3 separate regions of the Homo sapiens genome follow, and all the other regions are linked to region 2. The links are contacts of gene promoters, found by promoter capture Hi-C in human tissues and cell types (Jung and others, 2019). All regions are on one chromosome and are shown on one strand. The core of a region is centred on a gene start or on the middle of the fragment in contact, and the rest is flanking DNA. Distances in the headings are between cores, read along the strand shown. Region 1 overlaps NKAIN2 (sodium/potassium transporting ATPase interacting 2). Region 2 holds the start of NKAIN2 (sodium/potassium transporting ATPase interacting 2). Region 3 overlaps NKAIN2 (sodium/potassium transporting ATPase interacting 2).

Evidence for each region. The method cuts DNA at HindIII sites, captures the fragments that hold promoters and counts their contacts. A contact is called where the count stands out against the background at its distance.
Region 1: a fragment that was not itself captured here is called in contact with the fragment with the promoter of NKAIN2 in region 2 in 2 of the 25 tissues and cell types used here (dorsolateral prefrontal cortex and hippocampus).
Region 3: a fragment that was not itself captured here is called in contact with the fragment with the promoter of NKAIN2 in region 2 in 1 of the 25 tissues and cell types used here (hippocampus).

What each region holds. Positions count from the first base shown.
Region 1 is chr6:124,000,701-124,004,336 of GRCh38, forward strand. The region is part of intron 1 of NKAIN2 (sodium/potassium transporting ATPase interacting 2); the gene reads left to right. Among named protein-coding and RNA genes, the nearest start is that of NKAIN2, 200 kb to the left of the region's middle. The HindIII fragment of the contact is 6,679 bases long and covers 1-3,636 here.
Region 2 is chr6:123,802,071-123,805,614 of GRCh38, forward strand. NKAIN2 (sodium/potassium transporting ATPase interacting 2) reads left to right here and starts at 1,795. Exons shown (of 7, transcript NM_001040214.3): 1 at 1,795-2,184. The coding sequence starts at 2,131. RefSeq lists an enhancer at 551-600. The HindIII fragment of the contact is 12,261 bases long and covers 1-3,544 here.
Region 3 is chr6:123,956,326-123,960,341 of GRCh38, forward strand. All of the region lies in intron 1 of NKAIN2 (sodium/potassium transporting ATPase interacting 2), which reads left to right. Among named protein-coding and RNA genes, the nearest start is that of NKAIN2, 150 kb to the left of the region's middle. The HindIII fragment of the contact is 4,534 bases long and covers 1-4,016 here.

The DNA of each region.
Region 1 (3,636 bases), core at 494-2,993, 200 kb after region 2:
ACTCTCACTAGGTAATGGGGTACATCTTTTTAACAGAAACATCCTTGAATTGCTAACACATATCTTCCACTCTGGTAGACTAAATTCTGTTATTTTCTGTTGTTTGTTGAGAAGATAGTTCAAAATCACACCAAAAAAGGCAGTGCCATTATTGTAAGTGTCATTGGCATAGATGTTTTTAATCTCACTGTAGCGTGATTCTTTGGTTAATTGTCTCTCTGCTGCACTAGTCTGTAAAAGCAGTACGTGTAAAAGCTTGTTCACCATTGACGTGAATGGTAGATCACCAACACTCACCACAAAGCTTGACACATATTACATTATATTAAAATATTGAAATATCCTGTGACTTGACCTCAGTGGAATTGGAATGTGAAAAACCATCTTTTCAGAAAGTTGTAGAAAACCAAATTTGGGGTACCATCCAATGGTGCTGAGAAACTGACTTTATAATCTGTTTTTATTTTTTTGCTTTTGGAGTGACTTTAGTTTGTAAACTTTTTTTTTTTGGCTCTTTAAAGGGAATAGCTTTTGAATGTTAGATTAGAAATCAGACTATGTACAGAGCTATTCAGCTCTGAAAACTGTGATAACTTGCTAAAGCTATGTTTACAAGGAGAAAGTAAAAAACAACATGAATGATTTTATAGTATATGTGGGCTGGTAAGGACAATTATAGAACATTTCAGTTATCCAGAACTATAAAGATTTAACTTCTAATTTTCATATAAATAATTTCAAAAATAGCAAAGAGGAAAAAGTAACATTGTTTAAAATTGATATCTGTCTGCATAACAGAGTATCATACACCACATTTCATTTACATAGACCTCTGGTTTTTAAAAAAATCATAATGAATCATGTGTTTCCTAAAATACTCCATTAATGTTACAACTAAATAAATAAATGTAGACATAGGAGTGACTACTATTAGGAAGTGAAAGAAAATTTATTTAGGTGCCAAATTGACAGTTTTTTAAATAATTGTTTTGTTTAGAAAGGTCACATAACATAAAAACAAGTGGATTCTATAAGAAATCAATTACTATTCAGTGTTTATACAACTTTTTAAATAGAAAAAGAAGTTCTCTTAGTTCTAAATATATATATATATATATATATATATATATATGCAAGCATAAATGTGCATTGCACAAGAGGGTTAGTTACTCAAAGGAGGAACATTATTTGCCATGCGTTAATTATCATAATTTTGCCATTTCCACATTGAATCATAATCATTGTTAATTTAAATACAATGGTATGTAACTTATTCATTCAACAAACATTTATTCAATCCCAGGAATGCACTAGAGTGCTATACAACAGTGATACAGAGACGAATTCATATGCTGAAGCAAATTCTAGTTGAAAAAGGAAATATCTTCATATTTGGCTTTCAATAAAAATGTTAATATATTAAAATTATAACCAAGTTCTATTGATATTTCTCCTGCATTCCACCTCTGATAATAAATAAACTCATCCTTCGGGCACTCTCTGAGTTGGATGCTCCCGGTATATCTAATGCCTGGATATTATCAGACATTCTCAGATAATACGTGGTTGGGGATAGAGGGAAAACATTAAAAATGGTAATAATATAAGGTAGCATATGTTAAGAGTGAAATGAATGGTTAATGAATAAATAGAGAAAACCTTATTCTGGGTGCTGAATCACTGAGGAAATTACAAAGAACTAAGTCCTCATGCTTTTTGCTTTTTAAAATTTGTTTTCCTATCTGTCCCTTTTTTTTTCCCCCTTACCAATCTCCTACTTCATTTTCTTTCTGAGTTATTTCAAATGTCTCCTTGGGTATTATCCTGACCAGTAATCCACCCTGCATATTATCACCAAATGAGTCATTCATAGACTGCTTTGGCCATAGACTATGATCTCCACCTTCTTTACTCTATTTAAGGTAGTTGGAAACCTGGCCTGGCGATGGCACTCATTCTCATTTAACTTGCTCCATTCAAAAGAAAGTGCTAACTTTCTTTTACGCCTTTATTGCAAAAAAGAATGAGAGAAAAGAGTAATCTTGAAAAATATAATTTAGTGAGAAAGAGCTGACAACCCTTGCAGTATTATACTGTACTTGAATTCACAAACGCTGAGCATGTGCTTTGCATGGTTTATAAATAGACTTTGGCAAGCTTTGAACTGCCCACACTGTGTTCTGAGCTTTGAGCAAAGCTCTGCTGGCATGCTGAACCAACTTAAGTTCTAATGTGAGTTATAAAAACACAAGGATGACTGGCTCCATTTGGAGCATTGTGTTAGCCAAGCAGGTAAAATAAATTCATGGTTAGACCTCCCCTCCCACGGCATCCCTTTCATTCCTCAGAAGATAATTCTGATATCTCTTCTTAACCAGAGCAGACAATGCAACTATTCCTCTTTACAGATACGATGTTTTATAAGTTAAAAGAACAAAATGAACAAAAAGAACACAACATTCATTTTATTGTTAGTCATCTACCAGAAAGTGGTAACATTGGGGATGGAGATAAAAATCTGGAGTCACATTTTCATAGACTTACACATTAGTGACATTGTTTAGACACTTACCATGTGCATTATTTTTTCTAAAAAGCATTCCTGGTAATGTGGGACCATCTTACATATTTTAATATTAGGTACCATACTCTTTCCATGGCTATATATGCATACAGATCGTTAAACTCAACATGAAAGAACCCATATTTCACCTCTGATGGTACCATCATCTTTTACCATTTCATGTCCTCATCTTTGGTAATGCCAAACTTGTTCAGAACTTGTTGATGGAATGCAAATTCTTCACCAAATGCTTTTGAATGGAGTGCCTAATATGTGTCTGGTACTGTTTTACCAACTGGATGTTTTAATTCTGGGGGCATTAATAAGACATGGAATTTTGTACACATAATACAGAGCTGGTATGGCAAAGTGAGTGGGAGTGACCTAAAATGTAACATATAAGGCCAAGCCAATGAGGTTTTGGGGGAACAGAGTTGCCTGTAACCACTGCCTGTTGACATCAGAGCTACAGAGGGGAGGAAGACAGTGAACAAAGGGCACTGCATTCTCAGGGCAGCAAAACAGCTGCAGGGGCTCAAGATGGGGCAGCAGGGATCTCAACAGGTGAATGGAGGTCTGCAATGGGAAATACAGAGTACATGCTTAAATATCAGTGGCGCAAGGATCAGTATCAGGCCAGATTGCCAGACTTTAAAGACAGAATGCAGACACTAGACTAGAAATTGACATAGGAAATTATAATACTGACTAGAGCTAAAAGTGCACAAAGAGAACATTTGGATTTTTGTGTGCATGTTCCATAATTTGTCTGGACTAAAATATCGAGCTAATTCCAAAGCAAGTAATAGCATGTGCTAATTATTTTCTTAGTCACTAACTTTATTGAATGAATGATTTTCCAAACTTGGATATGAACCACTTTTAATATCTTGGGAAAAAGTATCTGAATGCTATTCTGATCTCAAGTCTGGTTTTAGGGTTTATTGTAGTAGCCATTTAGATAAAATATCTGTGGTACGGTTCATTTGGATTAAGAACACATCAGAATCAGATCCTTTCATTCAAAAATATTTGTTTACAGGATAGATCTTCAGTAAAGAGAATGCAGCCTG
Region 2 (3,544 bases), core at 545-3,044:
CAGTGCCTAAGAGCACATATTGGGCTCTTGGGAATTTTATTAAACATTGAAAGACACTTTTCAGAAGAAAAGCCCCTTTACAAATGGGTCGATTAAAACCAGACATTCTCATTATAGCAATAAAATATCTGTGCTCCATAAATTTAACAAAGTTAATCCCTTTTTGGCTCCCTAGGACTGACGAAACGTTTCTGAAAATTCAGTGCCAGGCTCTGGAGAATAGTCTCTCTGCCCTATTCAATTTATTTGTATTTAGTCATTCTGATACGTCATAATGTTTATTCAAAGGAAGCAATCATTCGGGATCCTTATTTGTGGTTCCCAGCATAACTTTATCCTGTATAAATGCCATTTTTCTCAGTAGGCGCCAAGTTCCAGTTGCTACAGAGAGCTCTCTGCTTGATGTGGCTTCGTCATCTTAATCTCTTAAGAAGGGTGCTAGGGAGCTGTTTGCTATTTAGCTCCCTAAACCATCCTCTTATCAATCGCGACACTTCACCCCAATGAGTCAGTTCCTCAGTGGATCTCAACAAATAATCTTCACTTCCTGGAAAAGTTAGGATTGCTTTCCTTAGCTGCCAGGGCTAAAAAGGAAACTTGGTCCTAAATATCCACGCCCCAGGGGCAGCCACTTGGGCCAGCATGTTGCGCCCTTCAGCTTTCCGCCCGCAGGTGGCAGCAGCGGGCTCCGAAGCCTGTCTCTGCAGGTAGCAGCCGCTTCACAGCTTTCAGGCCGGTGCTCAGCGGAGGCTGGTGCATCTCCACTAGGAATCCACACCCAGCTGGGACTGCTGTGAAGCTGAAGTAACTGAGTATTAAACTAGTCTCCGACTCTTTAGTATTTTAAGTGAAAACAAACAACAGTTTGAAGCAGCAACAGCAACTCATTGCATCCCTATTCCCTCCGGTTGCTAATTTTTCCCAACTCCAGCAGCAACTCGGTCCCCTTCCCCAAGCAGGGTCGGCTCCGTAGCTCTCCGCGCTCCGACCCTTCAGATCCTCGGGAGCCCAGGGGAGCCAGGTGCTGGGCGGTGCGTCCGGTGCCGCCGCGCCCCTTCTCGCCACCTCTGGCCTCTCCGCCACTCGGGCTTTCCGGCCGCTCTGGATGCCTCGGTTGCACCCCTGTTCCATGACCCCAGCTTCCTTCCCTAACCCTCCTCTTGGTCCCTTCTCCCCCGAGCGCGCGCGCACACACACACTCGGTTCGCTCCCGCGGAGTGGCTCTGGGAGCACGACCGACTTCAGCTCAGCAAACCGCGGTCATGCCGCCCAGACTCCTCGCCCCGAGGCCCCGGTCCCCGCCGCCGCCGCTTTCGCGCCGCTCCTTTCCGCCTAGACACCGCCGCCTGCGGCCGCCTGGGCGGCAGCCCCTGCGGTCCTCAAAGTTGGCCCCCTGGGAGGGGGCGGCAGGGAGCAGGATGAAGGATTTGTTGTAGGAGGAGGATTCACACATCTGGGCGAAGGGAGGGGCAGCGCCGCTGCTGGGACGCGGCGCGGACCCGCATCATTGCGCGCAGCAGCCGCTGCAGCAGCCGCCGGGGACCGCGGAGCCGGGACGCCCCCGCTCGGCCCGCGCCCCGCTCCCCGCCCCACCCCCGCCCGCCGGGCCCAGCAACGCAGGGTGCCTAGGAGCCGCGGGCTGCGCAGGGAGGCGGGCAGCGGCCCTCGCGCGCTTCTGCCGCCCCCGGAGCCGGCGCGCGGCGAGCGCAGGGCGAGCGCGCGTCGGGCGGCGGCCGCGCTGGGGGGCGTGAGGCGAGCGGCGCGGAGAGCGGCAGGGGCGAAACTTCGCGGGCCAGATGCCCGAGGGCGCGGCGGCGCTGCCAGGCTGCCGCTGCTGCCCCTGCGGGCCCCGAGCGCGCCTCCGCAGGCGGCACTGCCCGCGGCGCGGCGTGTGCACCGAGCGAGTGAAGGTATGTGTGGCGGGCGCGGCTGGAGCTGCCGCCGCCGCCGCCGCCGCGCCAGCAGGTCCTAATGCCTGTCACTTCCCAGGACGCTGGCAGCAGCAGCAGCCCGGAGCCCCCGAGCCCTCGGCAGGTTTGCGTGTCCTTCCCCGCGATCTGATTGGATAAAGTGGGGGCTCGACGGTGGCCGACGTGGGACAGTCTGGCTGTGGCAGGGGTCTCGGAAACCATGGGTTATTGCAGTGGCAGGTGCACGCTTATCTTTATCTGTGGCATGCAACTGGTAAGTGACACTTGGGTCCCCTTATTCTGTAATGTGTCTTTGAGATAGTGGGCAGGGGAGTGCAGCAAAGGGTCTGCCATTGACTAGAATGGACGAAAAAGATAAAAGAGAAGGTGACAGATATATTGCCTATATTGAAGATGATTTCAGGGAGACGCACTCTGGGGTACAGGAGAGGTGAGCCTTTCCGTTCCCACCTATTTCTGTCCCTTTTAAGACAGTTTGGCAGGTGCGGGTTAAACTTGTCTTTAATTTCTTTAGGAAAAGCAAGATGTAGCTCTTGTTCTTTATGCTTTGCATTCCTATTCATGTAACAACGTGATTGTCACCTACAATTTACCGTACAGGTTGTTAAACAGAGGAATACGGAATTTTGGACTTTTCTTCTCTATACTAATTTTGCAGTATCTTTGTTTCTTCATAGACATGTTTTTTTTCTTTTTTTAAGGAAAATGTTGTCTTTAAGTATAATGCTCTAAAAAAACCACTGTTTAGGGCACATGGTATCCTTACAACAGTCTAATTTAGACTGTTTGAGTTTTAGCCACATTGAGTTTTTAAAGTATGCAGATTGAACAAAAATACTTAGGTGAACTCAGCAACACCATTGTCATAGACGGAACCAGTAACCTTTAAATCACAATTAACACAGACAATTCCAAGAAAAACTATTCTGTCTTACATTATGCATATTATTGCTCCTGAAATAGATACTGTTGTCTGATCCTATAGGATGGAGAATTCTATGTACTTTTTGAGGAATGTTGTACAGTTGCAAAGGGGCAAGGAACCAATAATGGAAAACGTCATGTCTCTGAATTTCAATTCCCTAAGGGCAATGGAAGGAGGGTCTGAGTAGAGAGTTGAGAGGTGAAAAATACACCACTCTAAGTGGTTAATTTGAGGTAGGAGCTACTTGCTCACACTTGTCATTAAATATATTTCCTTAGAAAGTATAAATTAACTGGAATAGTCATGTCCGTTTTCAACAACTGTTTCATAAAGGTTGAAGTGACTACAAGGCAGAAGATGTTTAAGTGTCCAATCAGTAAAGTGTTCAAAAGAGCAAGGATTTGCCATTGAAACTGGCAGAGGAATTCCTTAAGTGTTCTTGTTTATCAGTTGTCGTGAAGCCCATGAGTGTTAGTTATTGCTGCTTTGTTTAATATTTAGCTGAAACAGTGCTTTTTGTTGTGTGTTGTCTTAGGATGTTTTTCTTTCCCCTGAAAGTTATCTGATGGTGTCTATTTTGATCTGTGATTTATGCGCTTATGCACTTGGTTGTAAGACAAAGATGGAACTATAAATGTAATTTTCAGAATGTGGTAGTTTCTCAATGATGTGTAAACCAGTTTATTTT
Region 3 (4,016 bases), core at 533-3,032, 150 kb after region 2:
TGGAAACAGAACCTTAAAAATGTAATTAAGATTAAATAAGGTCATAAGGGTGGGACCCTAACCCAATAGGACTGGAGTCCTTATGAGAGAAGGAAGAAACACCAGCGCACACTCTCTCTACGTGTGCACACATAGAGGAATGGCTGTGTAAGGAGTAGCAAGTAGTCCCCTCTGCAAGCTGAGGAGGGAGGTCTCACCAGCAACCAACCCTGCTGGCACCTTGACCTTGGACTTCCAACCTCCACAACTTTGGAAAAATAAATTTCTGCATTTAAGCCACCCCATCTGTGGTATTTTGTTATGGCAGCCTGAGCTGATGAATAAAACAGGTGAGTATGTGGGGATATCCCCTCCATTGTTGTGTCTTCATTCCAGTTCTGAGTCAGGAGATTCTCGGAATTTCCTGGGAGTAACAGTTCCATCCAAGTTACAAGTTGCGTTAGGAGAAAGAAAAGGCTACACCTCAGAAATGATATAGCATTTGTTGCAAGAGCTCAAGCTAGCCTCTCTGTGAATCAGTGCAAAGAGAATAAAAGTAAATTCAATTAAAGACTTCTGTGATCCTATTGCCAAGTTTCTGTACAAAATCAATTATTATTATTTATTAACTTTTAAGTTCAGGAGTACACGGGCAGATTTGTTATAAAGGTAAGCTCATGTCATGGGGGTTTATGGTACAGACTATTTCATGCCTCAGACGTTAAGCCTAGTACCCATTAGTTATTTCTCCCGATCTTCTCCATCATCATCCTCCACCATCTGGTAGGCCCCAGTGTCTGTTGTTCACCTGTATGTGTCCATGTGTTCTCATCATAAAATCAATCATTTTTTATGCGTATAAATTGGGGTCAGATTAGGCTATGAAAGCACAGCATAGTATACAAAAATATTTTCAGCCTATAGAAAAATATTGTTAGTTAAAACACCTCACTGATACTTAACTTAAAAATAAGTAAATCATCATTATACTGAATCACCACCTCTTCTTTATCTTTTCAAAAATGGTCACACTAAAGTGACTTCCTTAGCAGATGTCTGGGTCTTTATTTTTGTATCATCAGCATCTAGCACAGCACTAGTTACATTATAGGAATTAAATAAAATATATTCGTTGAATACATGAATGCAATTAAATGGTGTATGTCTAGATTTTTCAATATATAGGGTATTTTCAATTATTGTTAACAGATCTAGATCAAACAAATTAATTTTGAAAAAGTCTTTACTTGTAAGAAATGATTATATATCTAATTATTTTCAAGGTTCTTCAACTCAACCGCCAGCTCTTATTTTCCTAACACAATCTTTGTTTTCAATTTAGATGTTTACAAATATATTAATCCAGCACTGGCTTGTTACACAATAGGAATGATCTACTTTCTGCTATAATTTATTCCTAGAAGAGGTGTGTCTTTATTATGCCTTATTAAATTAATGTATTACCCAAAAAATCTTTGTTTCTTAAAGTAATTAATAAGAGGATAAAAAAGAGGTTAAAATACAATTTGAAAAATTAAATTTCTTTTTTACATTAAACCTTAGTGTTTTTATTACATGATACATTTTACTGAAATTCCAGTCAATCACAATATTTAATGTGGGCATGCTGCTCTTATGGTTAGGTTGGATTGACTATGTTTTATGGAAAGAAAATATAAAGATAATATTACTAATTACATTATGATACTGGTAGTAATTTTAGGGGGAGAAGGCATATTTGCTGCTAGTGTGTCTTCTGTTAATCATATCTATTGTCCACCCAAGCTCTGGCCCTGAAAAGGCAGAAAGAAGAGCAGTTTTAGGGTCTCTGCCCTCCAATAGCTAGGACACCGACCAGTGTAGGAAGGTATCTTTAGGCCCTTTTGAGTTCTCCTGTACGTGTGACTTTGGAAACTGAAAGAGAATTTTTGAAGGAAAAAAAAAAATTGCAAATCATCAGAAATCATCAGGAAAAGAAACAGGTTTACCAAATCTGAAACCATATACTGTCCCATGCATTAGCCTTATCCCCATGAAGGCACCTGTGAGGCAGGATGCCCCAGGGACAGCAGTGTCTGCTCCGTCACCTCTGTGCACATGGAGCCATCTGTTACACCTGGCCACCAGTGCCTTCATGGAGTAGTTAATGTTTGAGTCTCCCTGAATTTTGGATTCATGTGTCCTCACATGGTGGACAGGCAAAGGGGCAAACAAATTCCCTCAAGCCTCTTTTAAAAGGACGCTAATCTCATTCTTGAGGGGTCTGGCCTCATGGCCTTGTCACCTCCCAAAGGCCCCACCTTTTAATACTTGCACATTGGTAATTAAATTTCAACATATGAATTTTGGAAGGACACAAACACTCAGACCGTAATAGCAAGCACTTACCACTGGCTATTACATATTTCCTCATCTATGTATTTGTCTTGATGTAAGATTCTTGAAAGGCGGGGCCTAGGCTGAATCGCTACGTCAACCTCAGAGCTTACAACAGTAATCAGTGCACCAATAAACATTTGTTTAACAGATGAGTGAAAGAATGAATGCTTATTCTTTATAGACCAGGAAGAAAAGAAAATGTTACTGTTACAAATGAGAAAACAAATTCCAAATGGCTAATAGTTTCCTTGGCAATTATAGGCCATTGGTAGCTTACATTATTGAGGACTTTTCTTTGAAACCAATCCCAGGGAAGCTTTCATCCCTAAGTGGGTGATTTATTCAAGTTATCAGTGTGAGTATTTGGCGGCTAAGGACCGGGAGAAGATGACAGAGGAAAGAGAGTTTGTGAGAGGGGTTTATATATGTGGTAGGTCTGTGGGTCTAGAAAATGAGTCAGGTTTTGCCAGGTGTCTACTTGGTAGAAGAATTAGAGGATAGCATTCTCCCTTTGGAACCATTTAATCCGTTGAAGTTGCAAGGTGCTGAGTCTGCTGTGGTCTAAAGAGTGAATCTGCTTCTATAAATGCCTCTTTAATATCATGGAGCCATGTGGAGCTCTTTGCCCTGTAGCACACAGTGGATCAGAAAGCACTGGGCCAGTGGTCCATGGCTTCCTGCATTGTGGCGGCCTACTCTGCCAGGAGTCCTTCAGGCAACTAGGCAAGAAAGAAGTGAGAAACATAGATTTAACACTGGCAACCACTGTACTCGCTTTACAATGCTTATTTTTGGAAAGTGGTTGTTGTAAAAACAATTCTTTATGTGTCCTTGAACATGATACTTCTTCAGTTTCCATTGTGATTGCCAAAGGGGTATATTCATACCCTTTTGAAATGAAGAAATGGATTCTCTATTGGGTTTGGCTTTTGTGTTTCTTAAACCTGTTAGCATCATGCATAGAGCAGAAATATATTAATTGAACTCTATGAAAATACTTCCTAACTCATAGTCTAACTCAGGTTTCAAATGACTACAGTGGCTAGGGAAGTTAGAATTTTTTTTCCCTAGAAGACATGTCTCATGATCTTTTCCTCTCTCTCTCTCATATATATATATGAGGGCTGTATATGGGGGTGGGGGGTACAATTGCATTTGTTACTTTTTTTCGGGGATTATCAGCCTAGGCAACAGTGCAAGTTCTTCCGGAGTCAGAGCAGAAGGAAATATGTCTTCCATATATGTGTGTGTGTGTGTGTGTGTGTGTGTGTGTGTGTGTGTGTGTGTGTAACACCATTCACACTTGAAAGTTGTGGGAATTTAGGAAATGAGAACTTTTGCCTATCTAAAGAGGTAAACACTGGAAGTTCCAGCTGATTTGTCATGTGGGTTTGCTGTGATGCAAGTTTGTATAATTGTTAAAATAAAGCTGAAAATATTATGTAAAAATTCTATATTGAATATTGGCATCTAGTTCTACTTTCTAAAAAAAATTGCCAGCCAACACTGTGCAGCATACTGTTCAAATTAAAGACACGTGTAAGCTGTGATTGGCTAATGGCCATCAGGTTGCGGTCTCTGGTTAAATGCTAACGGGCATCCATCTCCACATTTCCACCATTGCATTTGTGCCCAGTAAGCCCTTGCTGTTGTCATCA